Linked DNA regions of Homo sapiens: all the other regions are linked to region 1. Evidence: promoter capture Hi-C in 16 types of primary human blood cells and fetal thymus (Javierre and others, 2016). All regions are on one chromosome and are shown on one strand. Each heading gives the region's core, a stretch centred on a gene start or on the middle of the fragment in contact. The rest is flanking DNA. Distances are from core to core; before and after follow the strand shown. Region 1 holds the start of CYB561 (cytochrome b561). Region 2 overlaps MRC2 (mannose receptor C-type 2). Region 3 overlaps MRC2 (mannose receptor C-type 2).

Region 1 (3,129 bases), core at 342-2,841:
GAAAAGCCTGCAGCCCCGTGCTGCTGGGCCGTGGGGTGAGGGGGAAGCCAAAGGGCCCCTATCACCCCTCAGCAGGAGTCTCTCCTGGCTTTGGAAGGGGCTGAAGGCCCGGGGCTCTCACGAGGGAACTCAGCCCTGCTCAGCCGGTCAGGACTCCTCCTCCACGTCTAAATCCACAGACCAAACAAAGGACATGGCTCAGTTCCACCTTCAATCCACAGGGATTCTGCCTGTTAGCACGCTAAGGAAACTGTTTCTTACTTTAAATTATCCATTAATTTCCTCCAACTGAAAGATACTCTACAAATTTTCTGTTGTTGGAGGGTTTAAGCTTGGTCCCTCTGAGGGGGTGGGCCCTGCTGTGTCGGCCCCTTGTGTCTGCTCGTGGAAGGTGTGCCATGTGCCACCGTGTGCCATATGCAGCTGACACGCCTGTGCGTCTCGCCTGGCGCTGGAGACTGCTCTCTGTGTACTAAGCGAGTACTGGATCCCCAGGGCCTATCTTGCCCACTGCCTGTGGCAATACACAGGCAATACACAAAGCGCATTCAAGTAAGCAGGTCTCCCTGCCCCCCGGCCTCCCAGAACCTCGGTGCCTGGAGGGCAGGTGGGGGAGGGCGTTCCTGAATGGAGGCCGGTTTCCCTCTGCGGGGAGGAAACCCCATTTCCCTCCTACCCCTAGGCGCTTGCTACATCTGGCCCGGCATCAGACAGGAAAGAACCCTTTCTTCCCAGCTTGTAGGAAGTCTGAGCTGGGCCCCTTATCTACCCACAGCACTTCCTGGACCGGGGGCCTGGACCGGGCTCCGAAGGGGCTGGCTCCCGGTCTTGGTCTTGGCCTCGGCGCCCTCGTTTCTCTGCGCTTTGGGCAGGGGAAGCTGCGGACGGCAAGCTCTCGGCTTTCGTGAGAGCCTGGTGGAATCGGTGTTCCCCGAAGGCTACTCTGCGGGGGCGGGGGCTAGTCCGGGCCTTCCCGGCAGTATCGTCTCCCCCGTGGGGGCTGGGGAGGTGCCCCCAGGGCTCCCGGAGCGGCGGCGTGGCCAAGGCCCGAACCGGGTCTGACATCTAGTGGCCTCCTGGGCCCGGGCAGGGCGAGGGCGGGGCAGGGAAGAAGGTGGAGGGCAGAATGGGAGGCGTGGAGCGAGAAAATCAGGAAGCGCGGGACCAAGCCGGGGAAGGGCGGCGGGTCTCGCCCCTGGCACCCGCTCTCCTCGGGGCCCGTCCCATCCCCCAGGCCTGGCCGACCCCAGGTCCTTCCGTGCGCAGTCGGGGCTCGCAAGGACGAATCCCGCGGCCCTCGAGGCAGGCCCGGGGGAGCTCCCGGCCCTCCACCCCCGCAGGCCGCAGATCCCACGCACCCCCGATCATGGGGGCCCCGGAGGGAGGTCGCGAGGCCGGGCTCACGGTGGCCGCGGTTCGCCCACGTGCGGGCCCGGAGCTGGCAGGGCCCGGTCCCGAGCGTGGCCGCAACCGCGGGGACCTGGCACGTGCGGGGCAGCCCCGGGGGCCGCGTACGCCACTTCCGGTCCCGGAGACACCGCCCAGCCCGCCGCCCGGTTGCCATGGCGACGCCGTCGCGCCACGGCCCGCAGAACCGGCCAAGCGACCCGGGCGCGGCGCGGGGAGGCTGAAGGGACGCTCGGGTAGGCAAGGTAGGAGGCCGGGCTGGGGGTGGGAGCGGAGCGCGCAGGGGTGCGGGGCGGGGGCGGCCCAGGTGAGCCCTGACTGCGCAGGGAGGGACAGCGCGGGGCTCCCGAGTAGCAGCCGGCCTCGCACCTGCCCCTTGCGGCCGCGCACTGGACTGCGGCGCCGACCCGCACCCTGGGCCCGAGGGCTGCAGGGCTCGCCCGCCCTCTCGGAGCCGAGCCTCTCCCGGTCCAGGCGGCCCCTGCCCTGGCCTGCCCGGGTGCCGGGTCTCTGCTGAAGTTAGAACCGAGACCCCCGCTTGCTGGTGACCCCGAGTTTGGATCTTTGCTCCTGCGCCGCGTTCTAGAGCAAGGTAGGGTGCAAATGGACCAACCAGCCTTTGCCACGGCTGCCCTCTTGAAATCTGAAACCGGAGCCACCGCCTCTTGCCCCGAGCAGGGCCCGGGCTGCAACGTGGAGCCGCAGGTCCCCGCCTGTGTCTCCCGACGCCCCCAGCTTCTGAGCGCGAGGGTGGGAGTTTCCCGAGTGGGAAAGCCCCATGGCTTCGGTGGCCTCGGTGGCCCTGTGGTGGGTCAGGCCGGTGCCAACTGCGCTGAGGGCGGAGCTGCCGCCACCTTGACACCTGGGAGATGGCAGGGCCACCCTCCCTCCCTCCCTCCCTGCCCTGTCCCCGACTGTATCACGGAGCGAGGATCATCCGTGTGGATCTGGGGTCCCCTTCCCAGACTTCTCCTTTCTGGTCGTCCTCCTCTCATTCATTCCACCTTGGCAGCCTTTGTGGATTTTCTGACTCCGTAAATGAAGTTACATCTAGGGCGCCTAGATTCTGCCCCTTTGGTTTAATAGCTAATGAAAAAAAAAAAAAAAAAGCTTTGCCACCTCCTCTAGGTGCCTGGATTTCTCCCGGTGAAATTTGATGGAGGCAGGAAAATACGAGGCGGTGGCAGCCCCACCTCCTTGCATGAGGGAGCCTCCTAGAGCTGGAGGTGGAACCACCCTGCTTGTCCCACTCCTTTTCTTTCTTGCTTTATTGCTTTCTTGCTTTCCTTACTTTCCTTCCTTCTTTTTTTTTTGAGATGGAGTCTTGCTCTGTTGCCAGGAGGCTGGAGTGCAGAGGGCAATATCAGCTCACTGCAACCTCCATCTTCCGGGTTCAAGCGATTCTCCTGTTCCAGCCTCCCTAGTAGCTGGGATTACAGGTGTGTGCCACAACACGCAGCTAATTTTTGCATTTTTAGGAGAGACGGGGTTTCACCATGTTGGCCAGGCTGGTCTCGAACTCCTAACCTCAAGTGATCTGCCCGCCTTGGCATCCCAAAGTGCTAGGATTACAGACGTGAGCCACCGTGCCCAGCCTTGTCCTACTACTTTTCTGCCCTCACCACTTTTCCTTGGCAGGCAGAGCTTGGGCTCCTGCTAATACTGGGATGGTTCAGTGGCATTAGATGGCATTGGTGGAGGGGAATGAGAAATTAACCCCCT
Region 2 (3,129 bases), core at 452-2,951, 780 kb after region 1:
CAGATGGTGACACAGTCCTCCAGACTGTCCCGGAAGTTGTTGGGCTCAAAGGGGTGCCAGTGGGTGAAGCTCACAAGGCTCCCGTCAGACCACTCAAAATTCATCTGCAGTTTCAAATCGTTGAGGCCGATCCACAGCTCCTCCACCTCTGGGGGTGCAGCAGGAGAGGAGGGGAGAGAAAACATTGAGAGGTCAGCCTCAGCCACCAGTAGGGAGGAAGGAACATTCTCTGAGGCTCCTGGACAGGATGGGTGGGGCAGTGGGAGGCCCTGCCCTCCACCCAGACACGTGGGCGGGCAGCTCCTCACCTTGCTTGATCTGCTTGGTGATGAATTCCAGCTCCGCCATGCTGTGGATGCTGACCAGGTCGCCACCGCCCCGTAGACATGCCTTCTTGGACTCCTGCCAGCTGCGCTTCTCGGCCTGCAGGCGGTAGCAGTGGCCCTGGAAGGGCTGCCAGCTCGGCTCGCACTCCACCTTCACATTGGCCCACCTGTCTGCAGAGACCCATGAGGCTGCTGCTCAGGGACTGAGCCGCCCAGTCTGGGAACCAACCCACTGGGTTGACGTCAACACAGGCGAGGCCTCCCAGTCACCTCCTCTCCAAACTCTCCCAGATCAATCCCGGTCCCCACCACAGGTCTTGGAAATGCTAAAAAAACACAAAACTTTACAGGGCTGCTGGAGCCCCGGGACAGAGACCCAAGTCGTGGTGGCAGATTCCACCCAGGACAGAACACTTCCTCTGGCTGTGGCTCTCAGAATACGATGGGTGGGCCAGGCATGGTGGCTCAGGCCTGTAATCCCAGCACTTTGGAAGGCTAAGGCTGGAGGATTGCTTGAGCCCAGTAGTTCAAGAACAGACTGGGCAACAAAGGGGAGACCCCATCTCTATAAAAAATAAAAAATTAGCCAGGCATGGTGATGTGCGCCTGTGGTCCCGCTACTCAGGAGGCTGAGGTGGGAGGATCACTTGACCCGGGGAGGTCAAGGCTGCAGTGAGCCATGATTGCACCACTAAACTCCAGCCTGGGCGACACAGCAAGACCTTATCTCAATCAATGCATCAATCAATCAGTCAATAAACGATGGGTAGAAAGGACAAACCAGCCCCATGAACCTCAGTTTCTCCCTCTGTAAATGGGGTTTCCTGCTATGAGATTCAAGCTTGGCTTATGGCCCCCTGCCTAGTAAATGGAATCACTGTTATTCTCTCAAATAACATTTATTGAGCACCCACTCTGTGCAGGTCTGGGAAGCCCAGGAGGGAGAAAACTGGGAAACGGGACCTTGAGCCACTAATGGGGCCCAGGCAAGCCCACCAGGAATCTGAGGTCTTGGTGGACGGGCAACCGAGAACATTAGGAGGTGCTCAAAGTCACTACAGATCGGCCCCATCCCCCAGCTGGGACTCCTTCCCCGCTCCTAACTCCTAACCCTGAACCCCAGGGCTGAGAAATCCACCCGTCCCAGGCCCTCCCTTGCCCCGATTTCCATGCCTTTCAGGTTCACCTTCTAGGGGTTGGGATCCGAGGGCAGCTGAGGCAAACAAGCCCTTACTTGGTCTTGGCAAGAGAAAACAGGACTTCACCAAACCACCCACAGTGTCATGCTCGGGCAGGATTCTGCCTAGTCGGGCAGGAAACTGCGCGCCCACTAGAACACGGCCTCAGACTGGGATTCCAGTGGTCCAGCCACACCTGCTCCTGGAGACCCGGCAAAGCTGGGCGGACTGAGAGCCCGGTGGGCTCGCTCTCTGGCTCAGGACCTGTCAATCATCTCTTGTTAGCCAATGAGCTAAGACCTGAGGCTGCCGCCCCAGACAAGCGGATTTTAGTGGCTGCTGAGACCCGAGGGGCCTCAAGGACCGGAAGGGAGCTTGGGAAATGTGGATGCTTTGGGGACACGACGGGGCGCCTGCCTTCGAAATGACAGGACTTAAGTGATGAGACCGGGAAAGCAGAACCTGCCTAGAATATGCCTCGTGCAGAGAGATATGGGCTGGGCAGAGGGGCGGAAATCCGAGGCCTTACATCTGTCTGCAGGTCCGGGAAGACCCAGAGGACAGAGGACTTGGTAAGGGGCCACAGATAGGCTAGGCATGCCCACACCCGGGCCTCCCAGCGGGCCCCTTCCTTCAGAAAGGTGCTTGTGGGAGGACTGGACTAGGGCCCAAGGCTCCCTCCAGCTAGAGGTGGAGGTGCCCTAGATCGGGTTGCTGACGTTTCAAGCTTCTGCTCCTGGCCCCTTACGGAATGGGAGATAAAGCAGTGGTCAGCAGTCCTGAATCAGGCCAGAGCCGTGGCTCACGCCTGTAATTCCAGCACTTTGGGAGGCCGAGGCGGGTGAATCACTTGAAGACAGGAGTTCGAGACCAGCCTGGGCAACATGGTGAAACCCCATCTCTAAAAATACAAAAAAATTAGCCGGGCGTGGTGGCACACTCATGCCTATAATCCCAGCTACTCGGGAGGCTGGAGCATGAGAATCGCTTGAACCTGGAGATGAGAATCGCTTGAACCTGGGAGGCGGAGGTTGCAGTGAGTGGAGATTGTGCCACTGCACTCCAGCCTGGGCGACAGAGCGAGACTCTGTTTCAAAAAATAAATAAATAAAAATAAAAATAAAAAGGCGGGGTGCGGTGGCTCACGCCTGTAATCCCAGCACTTTGGGAGGCCGAGGTGGGCAGATCACCTGAGGTCAGGAGTTCAAGACCAGCCTGGCCAACATGGTGAAACCCCGTCTCTACTAAAAATACAAAAGTTAGCCGGGAAGTAGTGATGCCCGCCTGTAATCCCAGCTACTCAGGAGGCTGAGGCACGAGAATCTCTTGAGCCTAGGAGGCAGAGGTTGTGGTGAGCCAAGATCGCACCACTACACTCCAGCCTGGGTGACAGAGTGAGACCCTGTCTCAAACAAACAAACAAAAAAACCAGTCCTGAGTCGATCATTGGCAAGACTTCCATGGTCAGGAGCAGAAGTTTTGCTCTGTAAACTCTTTACTGTCTGTAGTTAGTGTTGTGTGTGTGTGTGTGTGTGTGTGTGTGTGTGTGTGTGTGTTGCCATATTTTCTTTGTAAAAGTCTCCTCACCACCCCACAGCTTCGCAGGAAACTGCACAGCCCCTCCA
Region 3 (3,129 bases), core at 379-2,878, 750 kb after region 1:
CAGCTCTTTTTTTTTGTTTTTGAGACAGAGTCTCGCTCTGTCGCCCAGGCTGGAGTGCAGTGGCACAATCTCGGCTCACTGCAAGCTCCGCCTCCTGGGTTCACGCCATTCTCCTGCCTCAGCCTCCCGAGTAGCTGGGACTACAGACGCCTGTCACCACGCCCAGTTAATTTTTTGTATTTTTAATAGAGATGGGGTTTCACCATGTTAGCCAGGATAGTCTTGATCTCCTGACCTCATGATCTGCCTGTCTCGGCCTCCCAAAGTGCTGGGATTACAGGCGTGAGCCACCATGCCTGGCCTAGTGTTACAGCTCTTAAAAGTGGCACGGACCCAAAGAGTGAGGAGCAGCAGCAAGATTTATTGTGAAGAGTGAAAGAACAAAGCTTCCACAGTATGGAAGAGGACCTGAGCGGGTTGCTGCTAGGGGTGGGGTGGGTGGGGAGGACACAGCTTTTATTCCCTTATTTGTCCCCGCCCATGTCCTGCTGATTGGTCCATTTTACAGAGTGCTGATTGGTCCATTTTACAAACCTCTAGCCAGGTACAGAGTGCTGATTAGTGCATTTTTACAGAGCACTGATTGGTGCATTTTACAAACCTCTAGCTAGCTACAGAGCACCAATTGGTGCATTTTTACAGAGCACTGATTTTACAAACCTCTTGTAAGAAAAGTTCTCCAAGTCCCCACTCAACCTAGGAAGTCCAGCTGGCTTCACCTCTCACTGTGGGCAGTGGCAGGGCACTTAACTCACAAAGGGAGCTGTTTGGGCTGCAGGGCTAGATAGCAACTCACTCCAGGGTGAACCTCCCACAGGACTGGGACTCCCTCCCCTGAGTGATTAGGCGCCTTCCATGGGTCCTGCTGTTGCTGGGGCGGCACAGAGAGGATTGCTGGAGGGGGTCCCCTGGGCTCCACCGTAGTCCTGGACTCAGGCCAGCAGCTCATGGGCTCTCCCTAGGGCTCCTGTCTCAGGAAACAGCACCCCATTCACCCTGCAGTCCAGGCGGGAAGCTTGGAGTGCTTCCTGACTCCCACTGCCTTTCCCCAGGCAGATCCCATCCCCAGCAAGGGCATCCGCCATCCCTTCAGTCCAATCTGGCGTTCATTTGCTTTCACAAAGAAACACTGGAAAGACAGGAAACTGACAGGGCAGGAGGGTATAGGCTGGAGGGCGACGGGCAGGGGCAGGACTTGCGCAACATCTATCTTGGGATATCATTTAGGTATCCCACGCAATGCAGACTGCGTGACTGCATTGTCTATTCATAAAAGTGGAAACTTATTTTAAATATCATGAACAGGGCAAAACACACACACACGCACGCGCGCGCACACACACACACACACACACACACACACACACAGAATCTGACCACTACTGCAGTCCTGATCCCAACAAACCACCGTCTTGTTGTGCCTGAATTATTACAAGAGCTTCCGCACCAGCCTTCCTGCTTTCACTCCCCCGTTTCCCATCCATTGTCTATTTCTCAACTCCTAGCCAGAATGATCTTGTTAAAAGGTCAGCCTGATTAGCCATTCCCATTGACTTCCCACTATCCTGAAAATAATGCTACATTCTACCACTGCCTTCAGGGCCTTGGACAATCTGGCCCTGCCTGACTCATCTCAGCCTCAGCCCACCTCGCCTCCCTGCTGGTCCCCTAAAGCACCAGGGATGCCCCCCTAGCCCTGGCCCAGATATTTGCATTGCTCACTCCGCCACCTCCTTCAGGCTGCAGTCAATCTCACTCCCTCTAGTGAGACCCTCCCCAGACACACAGGCCACATTAGCAGCTTCCCCCTGCCTCGCCCGATTGGCGTTGGTTAACCTTCCTTTGTTGGCATCTCCAGCTCAAATACCGGCTGAATGAACAAGCAGGTGAGTAAAGGTCCTGCCGTCCATTCTGCCTTCTGTGGTTTCAGAGCCCAGGCTCCCTAAGGACACATGTGAACTTTCAGGCTGTTAGAGGGCAGGTATGATGGCTGCCTTGGAAGGACGGTGATGTGGAGCCCCCACCCAGGGCCGGCCTGGACACATCAAGTGCTCCCCTGGAGCCGCAGCCCAGAAACGGCAGTAACGCCTAGCGCTTGCAGAGCCCAGAGGCACTGTTCTAAGTGCTCTGCACAGATGAGCTCCCTTGATCCTCACATATCCTTAAAACAACCCTAGGAGGTGGGTCCGGTTCTCCCCACTGTGCACATGTTGAGAGGTGTGCTAAGTTGCCCAAGCTTGCACGGCTGGCTGCTCAGCAGCAGATGGCCTGGCTCCTGAGTTCTCACCCACATTCAAGCCCCCAGGAACAGAGAGAGGGAGGCGCAGGCCCAGAGGGGTGAGCTCCTAAAGATCGGGGGTGAGAGTGTCCCCTAGAGGCCCAGAGACAGACGCAAAATGGCCAGCTGCAGAAAACACCTGTGGTGCAAGCTCCAAAACAACAGTTATCTCCGAAGGGACAGACGTGAAGAAGCAGGCTCACCACAGGACAAGGCAGAACCTTCTCTTTCAAGCCTCTTAAAGGTGTTTTATTTGTTTGCTTTTCTTTTTTCCTTTTTTTTTAAAAACAATAATGGCACATTTAAAAAATCAACTACAGAGAAAGGGCCATGTCTTCGAGTCCATGTTCACATTGTCCCACGCTGTCGCACCAGGATGGGCCGCATACTTTGTCCTGGCTGGGACTGTGGCCTCTTGGAAGGGTACTGGGCCACTCCAGGGCTCGGGTGCTGCTCCTCCTGGATCCACTAGAGGGTGAACTCTGGGCCCTCCCAGACTCCTGCTCCTCTGGGGCCCCCAGGACTCTGGCAACCCTTCCCCTTGCTCCAAACCAGAGCCAGGAGCTGGAGATGTTAGGGAACTTATTTTGGTCCCCACAGGGGACTCTTCCAGGGGCAGAGCCCTCCCCCGCCCGGCAGGAGATGACATCCCAGCCCGGCCCAGCTCCCACCCTGGGAGGTTGGGGTGTCTCTCCCCAGTCTTATCTCCAGCCCAGCAGACACCACACCCGTGCCCTGGTTCTCAGGCCCAACCCACCTAGGCCCCTCCTGCCACGCCCCACAGCCACCCCAGCAGGCACAGGAGTGATGGATGCTCAGCCCCCTCAGCTGACCCTCATCAGGAACAAGAG

What was found. Contacts are between HindIII fragments. The CHiCAGO score rates a contact against its expected background, and 5 or more counts as called.
Region 2: a fragment that was not itself captured here is called in contact with the fragment with the promoter of CYB561 in region 1 in 1 of 17 cell types (endothelial precursors); the score reaches 5.4 in endothelial precursors.
Region 3: a fragment that was not itself captured here is called in contact with the fragment with the promoter of CYB561 in region 1 in 2 of 17 cell types (endothelial precursors and erythroblasts); the score reaches 6.2 in endothelial precursors.

The regions. Positions count from the first base shown.
Region 1 is chr17:63,444,768-63,447,896 of GRCh38, reverse strand. CYB561 (cytochrome b561) reads left to right here and starts at 1,591. Exons shown (of 6, transcript NM_001915.4): 1 at 1,591-1,652. RefSeq lists enhancers at 1-191, 695-834, 192-1,005 and silencers at 975-1,164, 1,335-1,894. The HindIII fragment of the contact is 2,186 bases long and covers 334-2,519 here.
Region 2 is chr17:62,669,017-62,672,145 of GRCh38, reverse strand. MRC2 (mannose receptor C-type 2) reads right to left here. Exons shown (of 30, transcript NM_006039.5): 7 at 309-497; 8 at 1-148. Among named protein-coding and RNA genes, the nearest start is that of MARCHF10-AS1, 36 kb to the left of the region's middle. RefSeq lists enhancers at 1-348, 349-849, 1,169-1,927, 1,928-2,687. The HindIII fragment of the contact is 1,064 bases long and covers 1,170-2,233 here.
Region 3 is chr17:62,692,969-62,696,097 of GRCh38, reverse strand. It overlaps MRC2 (mannose receptor C-type 2), which reads right to left. Exons shown (of 30, transcript NM_006039.5): 30 at 2,501-3,129. Among named protein-coding and RNA genes, the nearest start is that of MARCHF10-AS1, 12 kb to the left of the region's middle. RefSeq lists an enhancer at 2,835-3,129. The HindIII fragment of the contact is 1,221 bases long and covers 1,018-2,238 here.